Linked DNA regions of Homo sapiens: region 1 is linked to region 2. The links are contacts of gene promoters, found by promoter capture Hi-C in blood cells and fetal thymus (Javierre and others, 2016). All regions are on one chromosome and are shown on one strand. Each heading gives the region's core, a stretch centred on a gene start or on the middle of the fragment in contact. The rest is flanking DNA. Distances are from core to core; before and after follow the strand shown.

What was found. The method cuts DNA at HindIII sites, captures the fragments that hold promoters and counts their contacts. A CHiCAGO score of 5 or more calls a contact.
Region 1: a contact is called between a fragment that was not itself captured here and the fragment with the promoter of PEX5L-AS2 in region 2, in 1 of 17 cell types (total CD4 T cells). The highest score is 5.8, in total CD4 T cells.

Annotation. Positions count from the first base shown.
Region 1 is chr3:181,275,483-181,280,287 of GRCh38, forward strand. All of the region lies in intron 3 of SOX2-OT (SOX2 overlapping transcript), which reads left to right. Among named protein-coding and RNA genes, the nearest start is that of SOX2-OT, 220 kb to the left of the region's middle. The HindIII fragment of the contact is 6,428 bases long and covers 213-4,805 here.
Region 2 is chr3:179,894,851-179,899,655 of GRCh38, forward strand. PEX5L-AS2 (PEX5L antisense RNA 2) reads left to right here and starts at 3,344. Exons shown (of 3, transcript NR_110059.1): 1 at 3,344-3,501. PEX5L (peroxisomal biogenesis factor 5 like) reads right to left here. Exons shown (of 15, transcript NM_016559.3): 3 at 3,292-3,396. The HindIII fragment of the contact is 5,337 bases long and covers 1-4,646 here.

The sequences.
Region 1 (4,805 bases), core at 2,177-4,676, 1.4 Mb after region 2:
TTATTTTTGAAGGAGACAAGGGAGACAGGCTCAAGGCAAGTGGCCTGGGACTCAGAACCATTCTAGAAGGGGCCAGGAGTACAAAGAGAAAGCAAGAGAGATGGCCAGACATGTGTCCCAATGAGAATTAGCGGGTAGTCCTCTGGTAGAGTAGGCTTCATGGCACCTGTGGACTCACCCCATGCTAAGAGGAGGAAAAATTCCCAAAGATAAGCTTTCTAATATACTGTCAACTTTGATTGGAATAGACCATGAATTAGGCAGTGACCTGATCCTATAAATCAAAGACCTTTAGTAACTATAGCTTAGGAAGTAAGCATGGATGCTTTGGATAATTGTAAGAAGAATGTCCCCAAAAGTAATGACAACAGTAATAGCAATTACAGCAGAGTAATAAAAATAATTATATGAAAATTTATTATGTTCTAGCTACTGTTTTAAGTGCTGTATTTATATTAACTTATTTATTATCCTAAAATTCATTCACTTAATAAACATTTATTAAATGCCTCCTGTGTGCAAGGTGCCATGGGCAAAATAGATAAAACCTCCTTCCCTTATGAACTATATTTTAGTGTAAAGAAAAAGACAATCATTGATACAAAAAATGAGTAATTAATAAATTACATCATATATTGGAAAGTGAGAAATGGTATTTTAAAAAGTAGACAGGGCAAAGGAAATCTCAGTAGTGCTGGGGTAGGTGGGGATCAGTTTGCATTTATTAAATAGAGAAGCCAGAACTGCTTGCAGTGAGAAGGCGGGATTTAAGCAGTCTTGAAGGAGAAGATGCATGAGCAGGCAGATATCTAGGGGATGAGGGTTCCAGGCTGTGGGAACTGCTAGAGCAAAGACCTCTGTGTAGGAGTTGCCTCTGTGTTCAGGAGCAGGAAGATCTTGTGGCTAATGCTTGAAGACTGTCATAAGGAACTGAACTTCACTCAGAATTCAATGTGAAGCCACTGCATGCATTTGATCAGAAGAGACACTTGGTTCGACCGTGTTTTAAATGGATCACCCAACCACACTGATAATAGATTTGTGTGGCAGGAAGACTGATTAGGAGACTTTTGAAATAATAGTGGTGGGGACAAAGGTGGCCGTTGTGAAAGTAATGAAAAGTGGCCAAATTCTTACATTTATGTTGAAGACAAATTAAGTAACTTACCCAAAGTTACAAAGTTAATAAATGACAGAATTGGCGATTGAACCCAGGAAGTCCAGACTCAAAAACTGCTCTGACATAGAGTATGGCCTGACCTATAAAAAGAGATGGTGAGAACTCATAAGTGGGAGTTGAACAATGAGAACACGTGAACACAGGGAGGGGAGCATCACACACTGGGGCCTGTCGGGGGGTGGGGGGCTAAGGGAGGGATAGCATTAGGAGAAATAGCTAATGTAGAAGACAGGTTGATGAGTGCAGCAAACCACCATGTCACATGTATACCTATGTAACAAACCTGTTCTGCACATATGTCCCAGAACTTAAGGTATTAAGAAAAAAAAAAAAAACAGAGCGATGGCGAGAAGACAGGCAGAGCTTTCTAACAATTATGCCAGTAAGAGAGTGATTTTCGATGGTGGGGTCTAAGTTGAAAATGGAAAGCCATTTGTCTGTGATAAGCAGGGGAGCTTCATACATGGGAGCAAGGTGTTTAATAAAAATGACTTTTAAGCCCCTTCTAACCCTATGATTCCCAGATTCCAAATATAGAATGGCACAGTTTATACTGTTTGTCAATAGAAATTGACAATTCTAATGATTACTATTTTGAAAACCATTTTCTTGCCTTCATCTAGTTTACCAAGGTGTAACCAATGCTAGATTTGTCCCCTGTTCTCAAGGAAAGGATGAAAACTTGATGAATCTGATGAGTCTCTGAAGTGACTAAAAATAAACCCATGAAATTGCCATTTTGAATGCAAATTTAAAACATTTACATATTTGCAGTGCAAATGCCATTACTAGGTAGTTTGGAGATATAAAATCATAAAATAATAGAGGATACTCACGGATTAGGATGATGCATGATCATTGCATAAAACCCTTCAGTACTGCTATATGGGTCTGGCTAATTGTTCAAACAATCAAGGTACTATACCCTGTATGTGTGCATTGTTGGCACACCACTGGAGTGTTAGACTATTTGTGTTTGTTTATGAAAAGTACCTGACTCTGTTTCTGGTATAGCTGTGGGTTGATATGCTAGGTGGTGATCCAAAGATACAACTTCGCCTAAATCGTTTTAAATGTTCTTTACCATAATGTCAAAGTGTTTTGGACAAACTCCTGCTAGGTGTGATATTTCCTGCTATGAGCAATGTATAGCAAGTCTGTAAAACCTATCAAGTACTGCTAGGGCATTTGGTGGGGCAGGAAATATGACAACCTGGGAACAATTTTTGGGCTACTTGTAGTTGACCAAAGAGACCAGATAGATGCATGCTGCTTGGTAGAACGGGAAGAGAGGGAAACAAAATGAGGTTGAAGTAGATCCTGACAATTGACAAAGAAATGCCAGAGCCTCTATGTAGAAGAAAAGCTATTGAAATTCAACCTATCTCTGAAGGTGGAAAGTTGTAGGTTAGTATGCTTTGCCTGAATTTGAGTATATCTGGAGTGCTATTGGTTAGTCTTTTCAAAGAAGGAAAATTAAGCCCAAAGAGAATAAGGAAAAAATAGACCCTTTTCCCCCACCCACATACTACCTATAGAATGGAATCTGTGATAATGACCCTGTTGGACTTGATTCTGTTTTTAAAATTACAAAAAGTAAAACTGTTTCTTTCTTTACACTGATGTGTGTGTGTGTGTGCATGTGTGTGTACTTTCATCATGCAAATATTCCAAGACCTAACAGAGAGAGCCATTAGTTACTTGAGGCAACTTGCCAGCCTACTGTAGAGCATAAGTTCAGATCTTAATGGTGACTTCTTGTCATTTGAGACTGTTTGAATAACATATCAAAGGAAGAGAATCTCAAATAAGTTGTCTAAATTTAGTAAAGAAACCTCTTCTCCCTGGTAGTTTTGCTTTGTATTTCTTTTGGAACACCATAGACATAATAAAGAGCACTAAGAATTTCAAGTCTGATACTTTACTTTTTGAAAAGCTGTGGCTTTCTTTCAGGTTTTGTTTGATACTAGCAACTGATGTCTGAACCATGAAACAAAACTGTATCGATCTTACCTCTTGCAATGTATAATTGTATTTCCACTTGGACTCTTGCTGTTTAGTTCTTAGTGCAATTTTAATGAGTTCTTTTTGTTTGTCTTCTTCACACGTAATATGCAGCCAACGTACTGTTTTAGAATTTTAGATCAACTTTTATAATTCCCAAAAATTAATTGTAGAAAACGTTTCACTTTGTAAATGTGTACATGTAGAGAACTAGCACCCCCTAGTGTATTTAAAGCCCCCAAAGGTGTGATCTGGCATTTAATAAGCTAATAACAAACAGGAATGTGTTCCAATAGACAGGTTATTTGTTAACTTTTCCCACTGGCATTATGACATAATTTGTTTAGGCACAGGGAAAGCATTTCTTAAAGTTAATAAAGATTATAAATAAAGAATGAATATCGTATTTCAAACATGGAAACTAAAATTTTAAAACCATCATTGGCATTTGAACTGCTGGTGATATTTAAAGGCTGTGAAATAAAATAGCAATCTGTGGTCATGCTGCTAATTTTCTAAATTCTCTCTCTTTTAGAAAATTTCAGCAACATTCTTGTTTCTGGAAGGCTATAAAATTGAAAGTGTTTAGGATTTTTCTTCTGTTGGTGACTGTTGTACTGTGTGTTCCTTAATGAAACTGTAAACTGAAAATTACAGCTTTATTCCAGAGAGAGAGAGAGAGGACTTATTCCAACAGATGGCATCAAAACACCGGTCTAAACTGTATGATCGCTGATTGTTAATTGCATCTGTAAAACAATCCTTTTAAACAGAGTAATACATTTTATCATACAGATTATAGTTCCATGCTTTTTGGTTTTTCAATGTGTGTTAACATTTTCTGCTCCAATATAAGATTTGTGCTTGTATAATTATCAGATTAAACAACAGAACAACAGTGACTCAATCATTTTTAGGAAACATGCACAAGGGAGATAGGGAACCATAAATCACATTTTATTTGGACATTGTACTTGAGAAATGTTGGGGTTTTTATCAGGTTATATAAAAAGGAAGAATGGGCTAGAGCTCACCCTCATCAAATTAAAACGGTAGAAACCTATAAAATATCTTAAATATATGCTAAACATATACTGTACTTTAAAATGTATCTCACTGTAGGAAGAAACATGTTTCATTTACATAGATCTTTGAAATGAAAAGGAAATGTAAAAGACACATAATAAGAAAGAAGTGTTCTCTGAAAAATTAGAGATTAAGGCACACAGCTTCCTTTCTGAAATGGTTTCCATGAAAGCCTATGTAGAAGCAGAGGAATGGGTTTGATGACATCGTGAAGACAGACCTTTTTAGTAAGATTTTTCCAAGATATAGACAGTATTGGGCAAATGGAATATGAAGATTAGATCTTGTGTTGCTTCTGCAGCCTGGGTGATTCAGAGCTGGGAACCTGAAATTTAGAGATGTGGAAAGGATGGTTAACATTCATGTCATCATGAGACAGCTTTTTGGTTCATAGGTGCCACATCAGATTCTCCTGTCTACATTTGATATATTAAGGGTGAATAAAATTAATGGATGTCAAACTTCTGCTATTTCAATTTTTTGTTCCATCCTCTGGGAAAGGATTATAGACAGGAGGGTACCCTAGCTTGTTGAG
Region 2 (4,805 bases), core at 2,094-4,593:
ATACCTTGCTAAAAAAGTATCTAGGAGATATGGTCAAAAACAAAACTTCTGAAGGTTCCTCAAGAGAGAAAAGTATTCACTAAAGTCATTTCATTCTCATAAAGAGAATACGTTTATTTCTATGATATAATCAATCTTCTGGCAAACGGCTTTCCCTTCTATTCTCAAATTGAATTTGTTTATACTATTACCCTTTAGAATAGAATATTCTGTTCAACAGAATTATGATGAGGGCCTCATGATTTAAAAATTTTTAGTGGCTACTTTTAAAAAAGTAAAAGAAACAAGTGAAATTAAATAAGATATTTGATTTAGCCAATATATCAAAAAATCCAAAATATTACCATTTCAACATATGATCATTATAAAAATCGTTAATGTGATAGTTTACACTTTTTTTGATTACTCTCTGAAATCTGGTGTGTATTTTATACTTGCAGCACATCTCAGTTTGGAGCAGCCACGGTTCAGGAGCCACATAAAGCTCAGTAGCTCATGGCTACTGTACTGGACAGCACAGGTCCAGAGAAACTTTTTTTCCTCAAAGACTTGATTCACATATTTTCTTCAAACCTTTCATCAACACATGCTTTTTTACATACTATTTGATTTAAGTGTTAGTCTTGGACAGCATGAACTTGAGCTTCTATGAAGTCCTTGCATATTGTTTGCTTAATATGGAATGAATGATTATTTTAAGCAAAAAACAGCAGCTGTCAGTGGTCCAGCAATTTCTGAGTTCAGGTCACCTGGCCAACACTTCAGCATTATTCAATTTGTTTGGTGTAATATAGACAGCTCCACTAGAGTATGTTTGGCTTAATTCCTCTAAAAGTTGAGGAACACACAGTAATAATCACATAATACAAAAAAGTTCTAGAATATGGGATTATTCTACACTTACAGTCTGTTGAGTGAAAAGTTATGAAATAAGATAAAAGCTCAGTGTTTCAGTGAGTTATTTTCTATTTTATGTATCGTAATTATCCCAATGACATTATTTATAGAGTAGTAATTATCTTCAGACATATCTGGAATCTATCACATGAGCATCTGGCATTGACATACCAGTGATGAAGATGAATCAATGTATTCAGCAGTATGTGGCACTATGTTATAAGGGGCTTTACAGGAGACACTGGGACAAACGTGTCAAGACAGTAGTAGTACATTCACACAAGATAACAAGTAAGAATGTGGTACGATACACGGACTAGATGCTATGGTTGTCATGGGAAGTACTCACTTTTTCAGATCATTCTGCTTCTTTTTGGTTTGTGCATGCCACTGGTGCATAGCAGGGAAGAAGCCACTTGTGTATAGTGGAAAAAGTATATCAACTAATAAAACTGCATTTGACTGAGAAATAATTGTATTACAGCTGTCACTAAATTAATTCTGTAATACTATCAACACAACAGGTGCATTAAATTTTTTGAATCAGAACTCTGTTTGCTGATTCATAAACCGGCCAGTATGCAACAAGAATATGATGCATCAGATAAAGCATTCTGTAATCTTCATGCAGTAAAGTGTAACTAATACCTCAAAAACAGTTAATGCAACATTAGACAGGGATTAAAGGAAGAACTTGGTACAAACAAATGTCCTGGATATGAGAAAATGGTAATAATCACAATTTCTTTTCTAAATTAAAAATCAAAAATGTTATTTTGCATTAAATTTTAAATGCAAGCCTAGGTTATAATGGTAATTTTGGACATGTGAAAAGATTATCAGAAAGTACACAGCAATGCGTGATTTTGTGAAAAAAGAATCTTGGGTACTGGAACCTGCCCTAGATTGTGAAGTCCTGAGGTGATATGTTACAGTACAACTGTGCCAATTGCAAATTTGGTTAGGTCTTATCTACCGTTGTATGGCTCTGCCCTTAAGCAAGAACTTCAAGTAGTTCTCACCTTCCATAGCATTCACCTGAGGGACTGTGGACTTAAAATTTTGGACATGGGAGTCTACAGAGGTCTGACTCTGATTCAGTGTAAAACTGTATATGTTTTACTATGTATATTAAGTAAAGAATGAGGAATTTGGTAAATATCAAGCAAATTTCTTTCCAATGATTACCATGTGTTATTAGGAAGTAGCATCTCTTCTTTTGGGATAAAAAAAGCTGAAAACATAAAATGTATCCCAAAGTCTTGGGAATCTTTAATAGCTTTAAAAATTATTTAATTTTGATGTTATATGTTATAATTTTTATAACTTACAACATAGTATTTAGAATAAAGTAAAACCACACATGTTGGCAGCAGCTGGGGATGAGATCCGCTGATATTCTAAAAATAAGTTGCCATAATTTAGCTTTTGATATAAATGTCTTTCATGAGGACTGTAAATGGACATTTTTCGAATTCTAGGCATGTTCATATAATCGGAACTGAATCATATAATCGGAACTGAATGGAAAAAATGAAATGTTTAAAATAATCTAATCTAAATTATAAGATAAATGCAAGTAAAAATATTTCTCATTTGCGATTTTAAAACTGGTAGTTCCACAGAGTGGTGATGAGTACATTATACATATTTATGTAGATTTTACAGGGTGTTTCAAAAGTCCCCGAGGACATATAGGATTCACAGTCTCCACATGTCTTTGCATACAAATGAAGACTTTTTTCTATACTTGTTATAATAAATGCTGAAAATGGCTCTCATGTGCTTATAATAGAGATGACATTTTTGTTCTCAAGGTCACTATGTATAAGAGGGGTCACAAATGCCATTTTCTGCATGGGGACTCAGGGACTTCTGGCTCATTCCTGTAAATTAGTTATCCACATAAATATGTATAGACATATATGTAGTATGCATAGTCACAACATAAATATATTTAACATTTAAGAAAATTTAGATATTCTACTGGTAAACTGACATATGTATACAATATAACTTGTTTTTATTCATAGGAATTTGATTTTTTTTTGTTCAAATGTACTGTTAGCTTAATTGTTATTTCTTTCCCAAAGTTTTTAACAAGACTCCTTTATAAAGAAGCAACATGTTTTACTTGCACATATATTCTCTTTCTCTTTTGTCTTAACTAAAGTTGAGTAATGAAATTAATATTCACAAATAAATAACTAGATGGTGAATTTTTCTTTTTTTAGCAATTTTGGTTTTCATCTATATTTGTATAATTGTTTCATTGAAACTGTCTTTAAAAAAATTGGTTCAAGAGTTAAAGTTTTTTTTTTCTAGTTAAAAATCACAATGTCTGATATATTAACATATGTCAGCTTCCTACAGAAACCCTATGGGTCTGCCCACCTGTGATGTCATAGTAAGGAGGGGCTTTTCTTCAGCAGACTCCTCCCTCGGTATCTCCTTCATCACCATGGCAACAGCCTTATCTGCCGCCCTAGAGCCTTTTCCCTATAACAGTGAAATCAACAATGACTGTGTCAGGAGAGATCTTTAACTTATTATTTATTACAAGATATTCTAATGTTTAAAGAGCAATCCAACATAAATGAAGAGGTAGGCTGCTGCAAGTGAATCTTGAGGCTTTTGGCTGAGGAGAAAACACACAAAATCTGAAAAAAGATTATTTGTGAACTTTTAGTTAGCTACTTTTTCCCCTTTACAGCTGACATATTACATTTAATTTTAACATAGTATTTTATATGTATAATATGTTTTAAGGAAATTAACATGACATGAATTTTTTGTAATATCAATTTAAAAACACTATGGGTTGCCTGCTACGTTCATTTATAAATTATTACTACATAATTCCTAAATATTTTGAATGACAGGAGTTTGGGATAGAGATTAGAAGCAGGATCCAACTCCCACAGAGGGCTTTTGCTGGGTGATCTCTGGAGTCTTTGCCATTTTTGAGTGGATTGGGATAAAAAGAGTAAAAATGTTGCAAAATATCTAAAAATCCTCCAGTGGCTTGACATAACAGTAATTCACCCAGTCTGTTTTGTGGAGATGGTATAAACTTCATGAAAAAAACATTTTGCAACTTTCAATGTTTTTGAGACCAAATAATTTTAATAGAGTTTTAGAAGTGTCTTTTAACTGAAGAACCCCATAAATACAGACATAAAGGATAATTAATACGTAAAGGATAATCCATAACTGACGTAAAGGATAATTAATATTGTGGCACTAATCTATATCTCTCTATATATCTATAGATACAAATGTATATGTATATATATAGATAATATGTATACAAACACATACATATCCCTATGTTATTTGTCTCAAAGAAGTAGAATTATAAACTGTAAAGGGATATGGTGGCTTTCTGTTATTTGAGTTTACCAGATTATTACATTTTTTGAGACTAGATATGGTATAATGGGAAAGCCCCCCAAAATATTACCTTTCCATCCCAATTAGAAAAATTTCATACTATGTAAAAATTAAATAATCCTTAAATACTTTAAAAACAAAAACTTCAATTTTCTCAGGTCTCTGGGTAAAGCCTCCCTGAAGAAAATAATTTTATACTAAGAAAAGATATGAATATTTGTGTTGTAAATCTACTTAAAATACAAATGTAGCAGACAGACCTATCACAGGCAGAGAAACGAAAACCGACATATGGGGGTCTAATATTGGAAAAGGGAATTAAGAGCCAGGGTTGATATTAACTCAGAACTTAATAAAGCTTGATCGTTTCCATGCAACAAAAAGGATACAATTACATCATTATCTTGTGCTTTCAAAGGGCTTTAAGTATTTAGAAGGTAGGTTTACTCTAGGGATCAAAACATTATCCATTTTCTCAGGCACTGACTTTCTAAAATGTAGCCAGAGGCAGCTTT